Regions from separate parts of the Homo sapiens genome. Here all the other regions are linked to region 1. The links are contacts of gene promoters, found by promoter capture Hi-C in human tissues and cell types (Jung and others, 2019). All regions are on one chromosome and are shown on one strand. Each heading gives the region's core, a stretch centred on a gene start or on the middle of the fragment in contact. The rest is flanking DNA. Distances are from core to core; before and after follow the strand shown. Region 1 holds the start of SCMH1 (Scm polycomb group protein homolog 1). Region 2 has its middle 32 kb from the start of FOXO6-AS1. Region 3 overlaps EDN2 (endothelin 2).

Region 1 (3,712 bases), core at 90-2,589:
TGAAGAAAGTGGAAGTGAAGACTCAGGGGACATGATTACTATCTTCAGATATCTTAACAGCTTCCCATAAGGGAAAAGAACTAGGAAGGATGGGAGCCAGCTGTTTCTTTCAACTTATAACCAAATGTGTCCAGGAACAGAATGGGTTTCCTTTAAAGAGATTCGCTTCGGATCACTGGAAGAGGTTCCAAACGGGCTCGTCAAATTATCGGGGGGATTTGGGGATTTTCAAAGTCACTTTGGCATGGGATGGGAGAAAGCGCCCCTAGATGACTTTTAAATTCTCTTCCAGTCAGGAGATATTCCGGGGTTCACCCATCGGCTGGATACCACTTTCGATGCTCTCGGGCTGGCACACAACTGTGCCCACGTGTCTGGCCCCCAGGGCCGCTGTGGCTCACTTCGGTGCGGGGCCGCTCTCCCTGCCCGTTTCCGGCGGGGCACTGGGGCAGGCGGCACACGTGAGTCGGCCAGCCGGGGCCCAGCCCCCAGGACGCTGCTGACAGCTCCGGGCCCTAGGCGCCCCAGCTCTCGGTGGGGGCCACGCCGCCCCGTCGACCTCTGTCTCTGCCTTCCCCGAACCGGGACCCGGCCAGCCAGAATCACAGGCATTCCCACCTCTGGCGCCGGAGGGGACCGACTGACCCGCGCAGACGGGGTCGCGCCGCCGCCCGGCCCTCGGCCCCCAGCCAGCCTGCCCCGGCCCACCCGGCCCCGCCGGCCAGACACGGCGACCTATACGGACCGCCCCCACGCCGACCCTCCAAAGGGCCCCCGGCCTTGGGTTTCCCGTGCCGGGGCCCCCGGGCAGTCCTGGCGGCGTCAGGGCCGCGACCGGACCGTGGGCCCCGCCCGCCCGACCGCAGATGCAGAGCCGGCCTCCGGGCTCGGGGCCGGGCTGACACGGCCGAGAAAGGGCCCAGCCCCGCGCGGACCACAGACTGGCAGGCCGGCCAGACAGACGGACAGGCTGACCCCGGCCCGGGGGAGCAGGCGCAGCGGCTGCGCAGGTCCCGCCACCGCCTTCTGGCCCCAGGCGGCCCCTCAGGGCACGAGCTCTTAGGCGGGCGGAGGCGGCCGCGAGGCGCTTACCTGAGGGCGCGGCGGGGGCGCGGGGCGGCTCACTCTCTTCCCGCCGCCATGTTTCCGCTGCGCAGGGAGGGAGCGGAGACGCGGGAAGGGGGCGGGCGGGCGGCTCGGGAGAGCGGCGGGCGGGCGGCGGGGGGCTCCACCGAGCTGGCGGTGGCGGCTGAGGCGGGGGGCGGGGCGGGGGCTCCCCCGGCCCCTCCCCCGCGCCTCCCGCTGCGAGGTGGCGCGCGCCTCGGCCGTTGGGCTCGCGCGGGGGGCGGGGCGGCGCGCTGGAGGAGGGAGGGCGCGCGGGAACCCGGCCCGGCCGTACCCCGCCGGCCTGCCGACCCGGGTCCGGGGGCCCAGTTGGCGCCCGGACCAGCTCTCCGGTCTGCGTCCTGTAGATGGGAAAACTGAGGCCTGAGAGGGCGCGAGGGCGGGGACGAGGCCGAGGACTCGGGTTCGAATCTCGAGGACGCCAGTAGCCCGCTCTGAGGCCGCGTGGGGCTGGTGGAGGAGCCACCGGTCGGGCCCCCAAGACCGGCTGACGTGGGCCTCGCCTCGGGCGACTCCCGCCGGGCTAGTGGCTGGCCGTGTGGTGACCTTGGGCGAGTTACTTCGCACAGCCACCCAGGGGCCTCTTCTCCAACACGATAGCACTGCACCCGGAGGGTAGGTGAGAGATGAGTTGGTGCTTGGATGCCCTAGGGAGTGTCAGCGTCCTCGGTCCTCCCTGTGGTGATCCCTTCAACGAGTACGCACTGAGCCCGTGATGGGCCAGGTACAATGCACAGGCTCATTCTTCCAGGCCCACCAGCCATGTTGGCTACACAATTCTATTTTTGTTTTGTTAGAGATGGAGCCTCACTTTGTCCCCAAGGTCGGAGTGCAGTGGCGCCATCATAGCTCACTGTAACCTCAAATTACTGGGCTCAAGTGATCCTCCTGCGTCAGCCTCCCAAAGCGCTGGGACTACAGGCGTGAGCCACTGCGCCTGGCACACAATTGGTTTAACCACCACATCATTTTAGCAGCTTAGGAAACTGACGTCTTGACTTCTGTTTTGGCTGCTTGAAAATACAGTGCAATATAAATCCCGAGACCTCTGCTGAGCTGGATGTGGAGTGGGTGTGGGCATCATTTAGAACATGGCAATCCTCAGGTCACACAGGAATGTCTTGTTAATGATCCTTCTGTGAACAATGTTCCTTGGAGGGAAGTCCACTTAAGCAAGGCTGGAGCAGCAGATGGGGCAGCTGAGCCTGGATTACTTGCCTTGCCTCTAGAATAGGTCTTAGAGCTTTGGACTGAAGGGGGGCCGCCTCCTTGTATCCTGGTATTGGTGTCAGTATCCGTCTGCCCATTCTTGAGAAATGGAAATGGTCAGAATCTATCCAGGTTCTGATCTGCATCCCTGTTGTCTAATTTAAACTTTCATTCCATGGCGTTTTGGGGAGTACCTGTCTCATGAAGAGCCCTGAGGTTACAAGGATAATTAGAGCCTAAATCTAAGGAGCCCATATTTGGGGAAACTATTATGTCAATAGCTAATGAGAGCACAGTGTTGTAAGTGCTCATATTAGTTTTCTATTCCTGCATAACAAATTGGCACAAATTTTGCAGCTTAAAGCAACACCCATTGATTTACTCACAGTTGTGTAGGTCGGAAAACTGGCATGGTGTGGCTGGGTTTTCTGCTCGTGGTGTCATAGGCTGAAATCAAGATGTCTAGCACCTCCACGAGGGAAAGGTCTGCCCCAGGCTCCTTCGGGCTGTTGGCAGAATTCATGTCCCTGTAGGACTAGGATCCCACAGCTACACTGTTTTGCCAGCTCTCTGTTGGGGACCACTCTCAGGTCCTTGCCACGTGATCCCTTTTATCTCATCAACAGAGAACCTTTCTCATGTCACTCCCTCTCATTCTTTAAATATCTCTGATTTCCCTTCTTCAACCAGTCAGAGAACACTATGAGCTTTTAAAAGACTTGTAATTAGGTCAGACCCACCTAGATAATCTTCCTACTTTAAGATCACCTGTGCCACATCACATACCCTAATCACAGGAGTAAAATTCATCATAGCCACTGTCCCAGGGACTATGCAGAAGGTGTACATGAAGGTTAATCTAGGAAGCTACCTTAGAATTCTGCCTACTACGTCCAGTGAGAAATGTTCTCTTGAACATTTTCTCTATGAATTCCCCTAGCAGTTTGTTCTGTAACTCTGTCCATGGCACCATATATGTTGCCATTATTGGAGTATATTTCTAAACCTCTTTTCTAGGCTGAAAGCGTCTTGAGATCAGGAACCTTATTCACACCTGTAGCCTTAGATAAGGCTTGGCATGAGGGAGATATTCCCACATCTGCTAAAAATAAATAAATATTATGCATATTGTCCTTTGGATTCCTGCTTTTTTTTTTTTTTGAGATGGAGTCTCGCTCTGTCATCCAGTTTGGAGTGCAGTGGCATGATCTCGGCTCACTGCAAGCTCCATCTTCCGGGTTCACGCCATTCTCCTGCCTCAGCCTCCTGAGTAGGTGGGACTACAGGCGCCTGCCACCACGCCCAGCTAATTTTTTGTATTTTTAGTAGAGACAGCGTTTCACCATGTTAGCCAGGATGGTCTCAATCTCCTGACCTT
Region 2 (3,484 bases), core at 896-3,395, 170 kb after region 1:
GGTGGCTTGGAGCCCAGACTCCACCAAGCCCAGGTTCTTCCACGGGTCAGAGTATCCGTGGGTCAGAGTGGACGAGGCACACTGCACAGAAGGTTCTACCTGCCTTGCGAGGTGACTTCTTGGAGTCTGAGTGGAGAGAACCCCAGAAACAGGAGCTGGGGCAGGAACAGTGGGGTGATCTCTGCTGCAGACCCATTGCCCACGTCAGGGAAATGCCGGTTGAGAATCTCAGTGAGGGGCTCTGCAGAGGTCCCACAAGGAGTGCTCTGCAGAGAGGACCCCTAAGCCCTAAGCTTCCTGGAGGACCAGGCCTCCCAGCCCCATCACCTCAGCTTTCTCAGCCGTAGCCAGGCCTGGGCTAGAGAGAGGAAGGACTCTTTAGATTGAATGAGACATTGAAGTTTTGATGCTAGATGAGATTGGAAATTCTAACTCATCAAAATGAAATTGACAGTGCCTGAGAGTGCCCAGAAAAATGATGGGATCTGCCCCAGGAGCAGGACCCACAAGAGCAAGCTGTGAAGAAGCATCTTGGGCGGTGCTGAGGAAGAATCAAGGGGCTTTCCCATCTGGCCCTATTAGGGCCAGCCATTCCCGTAAGCTGGTCCCTTCGGTGGGTGTCCTGAAGAGGTGGCGATTTAACCCCTTTCCAGGCCCCTCGCCCTCCCGCTACTCCTCGCCTGTTTCCTCCCAGGACTGAGCCTAAACTAGGAGGGATCCTGGGGTGGCTGCCTCTCCCCTTCCACTGCCCCCCACAGGGCTCCTTTCGGCTCCCTCCCTGCTCCTCCATCCAGCCCCCAAATCCCCCAGCCACTCCTCCACTGGCCCTAGGTGGCTCTCCCTTTTTCCTCTTCTCCCCCTGCCCACTCTAGAGCTGATTTTGGCTTCTTGGACCTGAGTTCACCTTCGAAGTTGGGGCAGGCTGGGTCCCGTATTCACAAATGGACCAATATATCTAATGGTCCAATAGCCTCTGTTACAGATAGGGAGATTGAGGCCCAGGAAAGCAAGTGAACTTCCTAAGGCGATGCTGCAGCTATACTCCTGGCAGAGGCGGGTTAGAATCTAGGCCTTCAGCTCTTCTCCTGGGCTCAGCGGAGTATCTGGGGCTCCCTGGGAGAGATGGCTGGGCCAAGTCTTGGACAGATCCCACTCGCCACCCCTCCCTGCCTTGCAAAAGCACATCCAGAAAAATCATAGAGGACAGAGGGCTAGAAAGATCCCTTCCCAGGGGGCCTCAGGCTCCGTCGGCATTGGCAGAGATGTCAGCACCTGGCAGTCACCTACGCCCCATGCCCAGCCCTGAGGTTCAGTGGGCCACTGAGACCCTTGGGGAGCTGGCTGTCAGAGCAGCTTCTGCCAAGGGCTTCCGCAGTGCCTACTGCTGTGGACTCCAACCAGGTGGGGTTTAAAAGCACAATTCCTGGAGTTAGATCTGAGTTCAAGTCCTGTCTCTACTGGTTAGAGTTGTACCTCCGTGGGCAAATCATGCCACCTCTCTGAGCCCTGTTGTCTCACAGAAAGGAACAAGGCACTGGGATTCAGTAGTGAGGATAATGAACTGATGCACCCCAGGCAAGTATCCCAATGTCTGGCTTTCCAGGCATCTTCTAGTCCCCTGAAAGAGCTCTGTCATGGCAGACTTTCCTTGTGAACAGTATGGTGGAGATCCAGGGTTGTGGCTCCATCCATCCTTCTCATGTTCACCCTGCATGGAGCCCCCAGGGTCAACCCATCTATTTTAAAACTTCTTTTCCTCCCTCTGTCCCACCATTTCCATCCATTTTATCCCCCTCTCCCTTTTTCAGAAATGACATAATTAGAGGGGTTTAATGTTCTGCTGCTGAAATCTTCATTTTCTTGGGTAATTTCCACTATTTCATCAAGGAATAATTAATTGCATTGTCTTTAATCAATTGTTTGACAAATCCAGCAGCGGGAGGAATTCTCCCACCATCCCCGCAGCTGCTCTCCCCTCCTGGGTGAGGCGCCAGCTCATGCCAACAGGAGCGCTTGGCTGCCAGCGCTGGGGTGGGTGAGTGTAGAGGAGGGGCCCCCAGTTTCCCCAGCCTCCTGTGGGGGAGGGGAGCCCAGGCAGCCAGGAATCCACCCAGCAGCCACACGGGGAGCACCCAGCTGAGCTCAACTGTGAGCTCGGCCTCCTCAAAGCCCAGTCAGGTCGGCGGCGGTGGGGGGTGGGGGGATAGATCCCATTTAGCAGATGCAGAAGCTGAGGCTTGAGGAGGATCACAGGGACTGAGAGATGGAGAGGGACTCAGGTCTCTCGGGCTCTGAGACGCAAGACAGGGAAGATAAGATCCAAAACTGAATCTTAGAGATGGAGGCTGGTTACCAGTAACTGGTAACCGGGAGAGAGGAAAGAGGAGAAGGGAAGGACGTCCCCAGGCAGAGGGGGAAAGTGATAGTAGTAATAGCGAATGTTTTTATGGTACTCATGAAATGGCAGGTCCTGTTCTAAGTATTTTATCATCTCAATAACCCTGGGAGGTGGCCCCTCTTATAACCCCCGACTTACAGGTGAGGAAGCTGAGGCTCACAGAGGTTAAGTGATGTGCCCAAGGTCACACAACTAGTGAGGGGCGTAGCAGTTGTGCATTTATTCACGAACAGTGCTGCTTCCCCCAGCCACCCTGTGACAACAGACGAATCCTATTTCACTCGTGGAAAGCCCAGCCCCACTGTGGCCAACCACGTGCCCTCATGATCTCCCCTTCAAATGCCTCTTTCTCCTGTCCTTCCCACTGGCCCATTGCTCCAGCCTACTGATCTCCTTACTCTCCGCCCGCCCCAGGGCACTTGCTCCTCCTTCCAGGCTCTTCTTACAGGATTGCTCCCTGACTTTATTTACATATCTGCTCCAATGTCACCTTCCCAGGGGGACTCAGCCAGGCCCTCATCTCAATAAGTATCAGCCCTCCCTCTCCTTACGCTATTTTATTTGTCTTCCTGGTACTGATTCATGAATCTATCCATGGTGGGCGTTAGTGCTTTCTGCCAAATACGTCCTGCTCCCTATCTTCTGGGTATGAGTAGGACTGTACTTTCCCTCCCCTCAGAGATGAGTGTGACTTGTGATGGAAAGTGAAATAGGACAGACGTGTCCTGTATCATTTCCAGGGCTTCGGATGGGGCTTTTGGAACGATTGGGCCATTTGCCTTGTTCCCTGTTGTGGAAGTTGGGGATGGAGCCTCCTTCAGCCTGGGCCCTTAAATGAAGACAACATAGAGCAGACTCCCCTGCGGGGAACCCCCAAAGGGCATGCAATGTGAGCGAGAAACAATTTTTCATGGCTTTACACCACTGATCAAAAACATTGCCCATCTGACTGATCCATTACTTAATACATTCTCATTCATTTTTCTTTCTCCGTGAGAACAGGGGCTTTGCTGTGTTAGCCACCCTATCCCCAGTTCCTAGAGCATGGCCTGGCATGCAGTAGGTGACCAGTAGATATTTGTTGAA
Region 3 (3,733 bases), core at 802-3,301, 240 kb after region 1:
TGCATTTGAGTTTTTCAGGGGCAGGGTCATGTTGAATGGGAGCCTGTGATGCACTCCCAGGGAGCGAGGCTCCCCTGGCATCAAGCTCAGCTGAAACGTGAGAGGTGCGCTCTGGCCCTGGGCTGGAGTAGGCAACAAGTGCCTGGGCTGACCCCGTGACACCAGCCTCATCACCAGGATGCGCGGAGGATCCCTAAGGACTTATGATGACTGCTTCTCTGCCACTGGTCTCCTCATTCACTCAGCTCTGGCCAGCCCTCTGTGGCATATTTCCAAAGCTCAGCTCTGCCGAGGTCCCCTGCTGCTCACAGAGCTTTGTGGCTTCCTGTGGCCCACAAGGGGAAGTCGAGGCTCCTAACCTTGACCTTCAAGGCCTCTCTGGCTTTGTGTCCTGCTGCTGCCCCCTTGCCATGGTCCAGACACCTGAGGCCCCTCCTAAGGAAGCTTCTTTGTTACTCCCACTTCCATACTTTCATCCTCCCCGCTCCCTCTGCCTGGAATTCCCTCCCTATTTTCTTTCTATGTATTCAAGTCATTTGAGTGTTTCTTTTTCTTTTTCTTTTAAGCCAGGTCCTCCCTGTGGTGCCCAGGCTGCAGTGCAGTGGCACGACCATAGTTCACTGTAGCCTCGAGCTCCTGGGCTCAAGCAATCCTCTGGCCTCAGCCTCCTGAGTAGCTGGGACCACAGGTGTGCACCACCTCACCCAGCTAATTAAAAACATTTTTTTTTTTTTGTAGATACAGGGTCTCCCTATATTGCCCAGGCTGGTCTTGAACTGCTGGAGTCAAGTCATCCTCCCACCTTGGCCTCTTAAAGTGCTGGGATTATAGTCGTGAGTTGCCACCCCTGGCCTCTTTTGAGTCTTTCTATTTATTTTGCATATCTTTTGAGGCCACAAGAGTAGCACCTTTGTCCAGACTCTTCCTATGACCACCCACCTCCACCCCAGCTAGCCCCCATCTTGCCCCCCCATCAGGCCCCTTAGTTCTGTCCCCGTCCCACTCATTCCATAATCACCATTGCCAGCCCCACAAGCAGCCTCTGCCTCTTGTCAGGCCTTGGGCTGAGCCTGGTACCATCACTTCTCTGCTTAGTGCCCACAGCAACTCTGCGACGTGGGGACAATTGCTTCCCATTTTCTAGATGAAGAAAACTGAGGTTCAGAAACTGAAAGAGATTTGTTCAACATCATACTGCAGTGGTGACTCATGAATTCAATCAGCAAGTATTTATCATGTCCAAAGCCCAAGGTGAGGGGCCAAGCCAGGGCCAAGCTGTGGCTCCATCACAGCACCCCTCACTGACCAGTGGGGCACCCACAGCCTTGGGGTTCACCTGGTCTTCTCCCTCGCTGGACAGCTTTGCTCTGAGCCTTACTGTCAGCCTCTGCTGGGACAGAGCCGCTGGGGCGATGAGTCCCTCCACCCTCGTGTCTTGGCTTCTTCCACACACGCTCCTGGAAAAGGGATGGCCGTTGATTACTGGCCTGATGAGAACATAGCTCCTGGAATCCTGACGTCACAGCTGCAGGTGGCTGTCGAGGCACATGACAGACAAAAGCCCAGAGAGGGCAGGCTAGCAGCCAGAGACACCCAGCAAGGGTGGGAGTGGAACCCAGCGCTCTAGCCACCTGCCCCAGCCCTTTCCTTCTTGTGTCCTCCAACTTCCAAGCGGCCCCTTCTTGAGAGAAGCCTCCAACACCCTGCCTTGGCCAAGACAAAAAACCAGAGTATGTTTCCTCATTTATTATAAACACAAGTTCGCAGGTAAATAGAGGGTCTAAAAAATACATTAAAATAAATAATTGGGATTCTCAAAGTTCTTAGGGCAAATAAGTTATATACAGACAGGAAAAGCAGAGCAGGCCCTTCTCACTGGGAGGGTCCCGAGGGAATGAGGGTGCAAGAACTCTGGGGAGGGAAAGCTGGAGAGGACACAGCCAGCCAGGATGCCAGCCTCAGGGGAGCCATCCAGCCTCCAGGGCTGGCTGAGGCATGCGTGTTCGTGGCTGCACGGTTGCTCCTGGTTTGTAGCCCAGCAGACAGGACACTCCTCAGGACGCAGCCTCCAGATGAATGTACTCCCCATGCAGTTCTTCCAGCAGAGCTGTGGGCCAGCAGCCAGCACTGGAGGCTGCTCCGCAGTCTGGAGGCCGAGGGCTTCCCTGGGCAGTGCGAGGACACAGAACTGCCTTGGACGAGGCTCCCTCACCAGGGAGCTTGTGCCAATCCTGGCAAATGGGTCCAGCTGTCTGGGACCAAGGCCCCGGTCCAGGAAGCAGGCAGAGAGTCCACAAGCCCTGGCCACTTCTCTCCTCCTCTCTCCCCGCGGGCTTCCTTCCCAATGTTCCTCCAGCTCACGACACTATCTCTTCCTCCACCTGGAATGTGTGGACCGAGGCTCCCGCATGGCCTCCTGTTGTCGCTTGGCAAAGAGGCTCTTGACTGTGGAAATGTCCCTGGGAATCAAGAAGGGTCAACTTAGCATCTCAGGAGATATGGACTGTCCAAGAGCTCCCCATGAGAGCAGGGGCAATGGGGCTACAGCCCTTGCCCAGATCCTGGGGTCACAGCGGCCCTGGGGTCAGACAGTGACCACAGCCTGAAAACAAGGTCTGCACAACCAGCGCAGGCCAGCCCAGGCGTTGAAGCTTCTCTGCACATGGGGGCTTTGACAGAGCTAAGGTTCAACATCAAATGCTGCCAGAATGAGTGGACAGCCAAGCACAGCCCTGTGGGTCTCCCGTCATCTGCCTTCCCACTTCTTTCCACAGCTTTCCACACCTTTGCTCCTGCTCTTCCCTCCAGGCTGTGTGTATTCCCCTCACCCAGAAGCCACCTGCTACAATTCTACTCATTCTTCGAGGTCCAGTTCAAGGTAGTCCAGCCCAGAAAACAGGGCACCCCGCTGCCCTTTGAACCTGGCTGGGTGGCCACATCCTGGCTCAAAGAACTCTAAACTGGGAGCCAGGAGGCTGGCTTCAGTTCCTAGCTAAGGAAACTTGGGCAACAATCTCAGCCTCTCTGATCCCCTTTCTTAGCTTGTAAAACAAAAACAGGCCTGAACTGCTGAGAATGAGTACAAGGTTGGCCGAGCCAGCTCTGCACACTATGAAGTGTGCGCTTTTGAAAAGTCTTGTACTCATATTTTTCATTCTCAGAAAGTTCCTAAGTATATGTTGGGTCCCGTCCATCCCACCATCCTGCCTTTTCTCCTGTTTTTCTGCCGCCCCCAAAAGGTGAGAATCTCTGAAGGGCTGAGCTGGGCCCTGGGACCTGGCCAGCTGTGAGGAACCCTCAGTGACAGAAGTGGGAATGGCAAACCCCTCCACAGCTCCCACGGGCACAGACCCTGGTCTACACACTTCATGTGCGTCCACTCATCTGACCTCACAGCAACCCCAGGCGGGGATGGATGGCACAATTTCCCTGTTTCTCCTGTTCAAATCATAGGAACTAGAGGCACAGTGAAGTTGAGGGGCAAACCCAAGGTCACAAAGCTTGTACCAGGCTGGGCTGGGGTTCAGATCAAGCAGTCTGCCCCAGAGGCTGCCCCTACAGCCACTCTGCTGCCCGGCAGGTGCAAGTGTCTGTTCTTGAGTTGGTTTGGTTGAACAAGCATTCGTGGGCACCTCCTGGGGGCCAGGTCTGACTCACACTGAGGCACCAGGGAGGAGATGCAATCTGGGCAGCAGAGAGGGAGCAGGCTGGGCAGTTGGCCCCTCTGGACCCC

Evidence for each region. Contacts are between HindIII fragments. The study calls those that stand out against the background at their distance.
Region 2: a contact is called between a fragment that was not itself captured here and the fragment with the promoter of SCMH1 in region 1, in 1 of the 25 tissues and cell types used here (stomach).
Region 3: a fragment that was not itself captured here is called in contact with the fragment with the promoter of SCMH1 in region 1 in 2 of the 25 tissues and cell types used here (aorta and lymphoblastoid cells).

Annotation. Positions count from the first base shown.
Region 1 is chr1:41,240,967-41,244,678 of GRCh38, forward strand. SCMH1 (Scm polycomb group protein homolog 1) reads right to left here and starts at 1,340. Exons shown (of 16, transcript NM_001394311.1): 1 at 1,093-1,340. SCMH1-DT (SCMH1 divergent transcript) reads left to right here and starts at 1,392. Exons shown (of 3, transcript NR_186015.1): 1 at 1,392-1,740. RefSeq lists an enhancer at 1-80 and silencers at 401-560, 661-1,210, 1,251-1,650. The HindIII fragment of the contact is 24,810 bases long and covers 1-3,712 here.
Region 2 is chr1:41,405,847-41,409,330 of GRCh38, forward strand. No RefSeq gene overlaps it. Among named protein-coding and RNA genes, the nearest start is that of FOXO6-AS1, 32 kb to the left of the region's middle. The HindIII fragment of the contact is 5,293 bases long and covers 1-3,484 here.
Region 3 is chr1:41,477,044-41,480,776 of GRCh38, forward strand. EDN2 (endothelin 2) reads right to left here. Exons shown (of 5, transcript NM_001956.5): 5 at 1,732-2,459. The coding sequence ends at 2,366. Among named protein-coding and RNA genes, the nearest start is that of EDN2, 5.8 kb to the right of the region's middle. RefSeq lists an enhancer at 1-595. The HindIII fragment of the contact is 4,199 bases long and covers 1-3,733 here.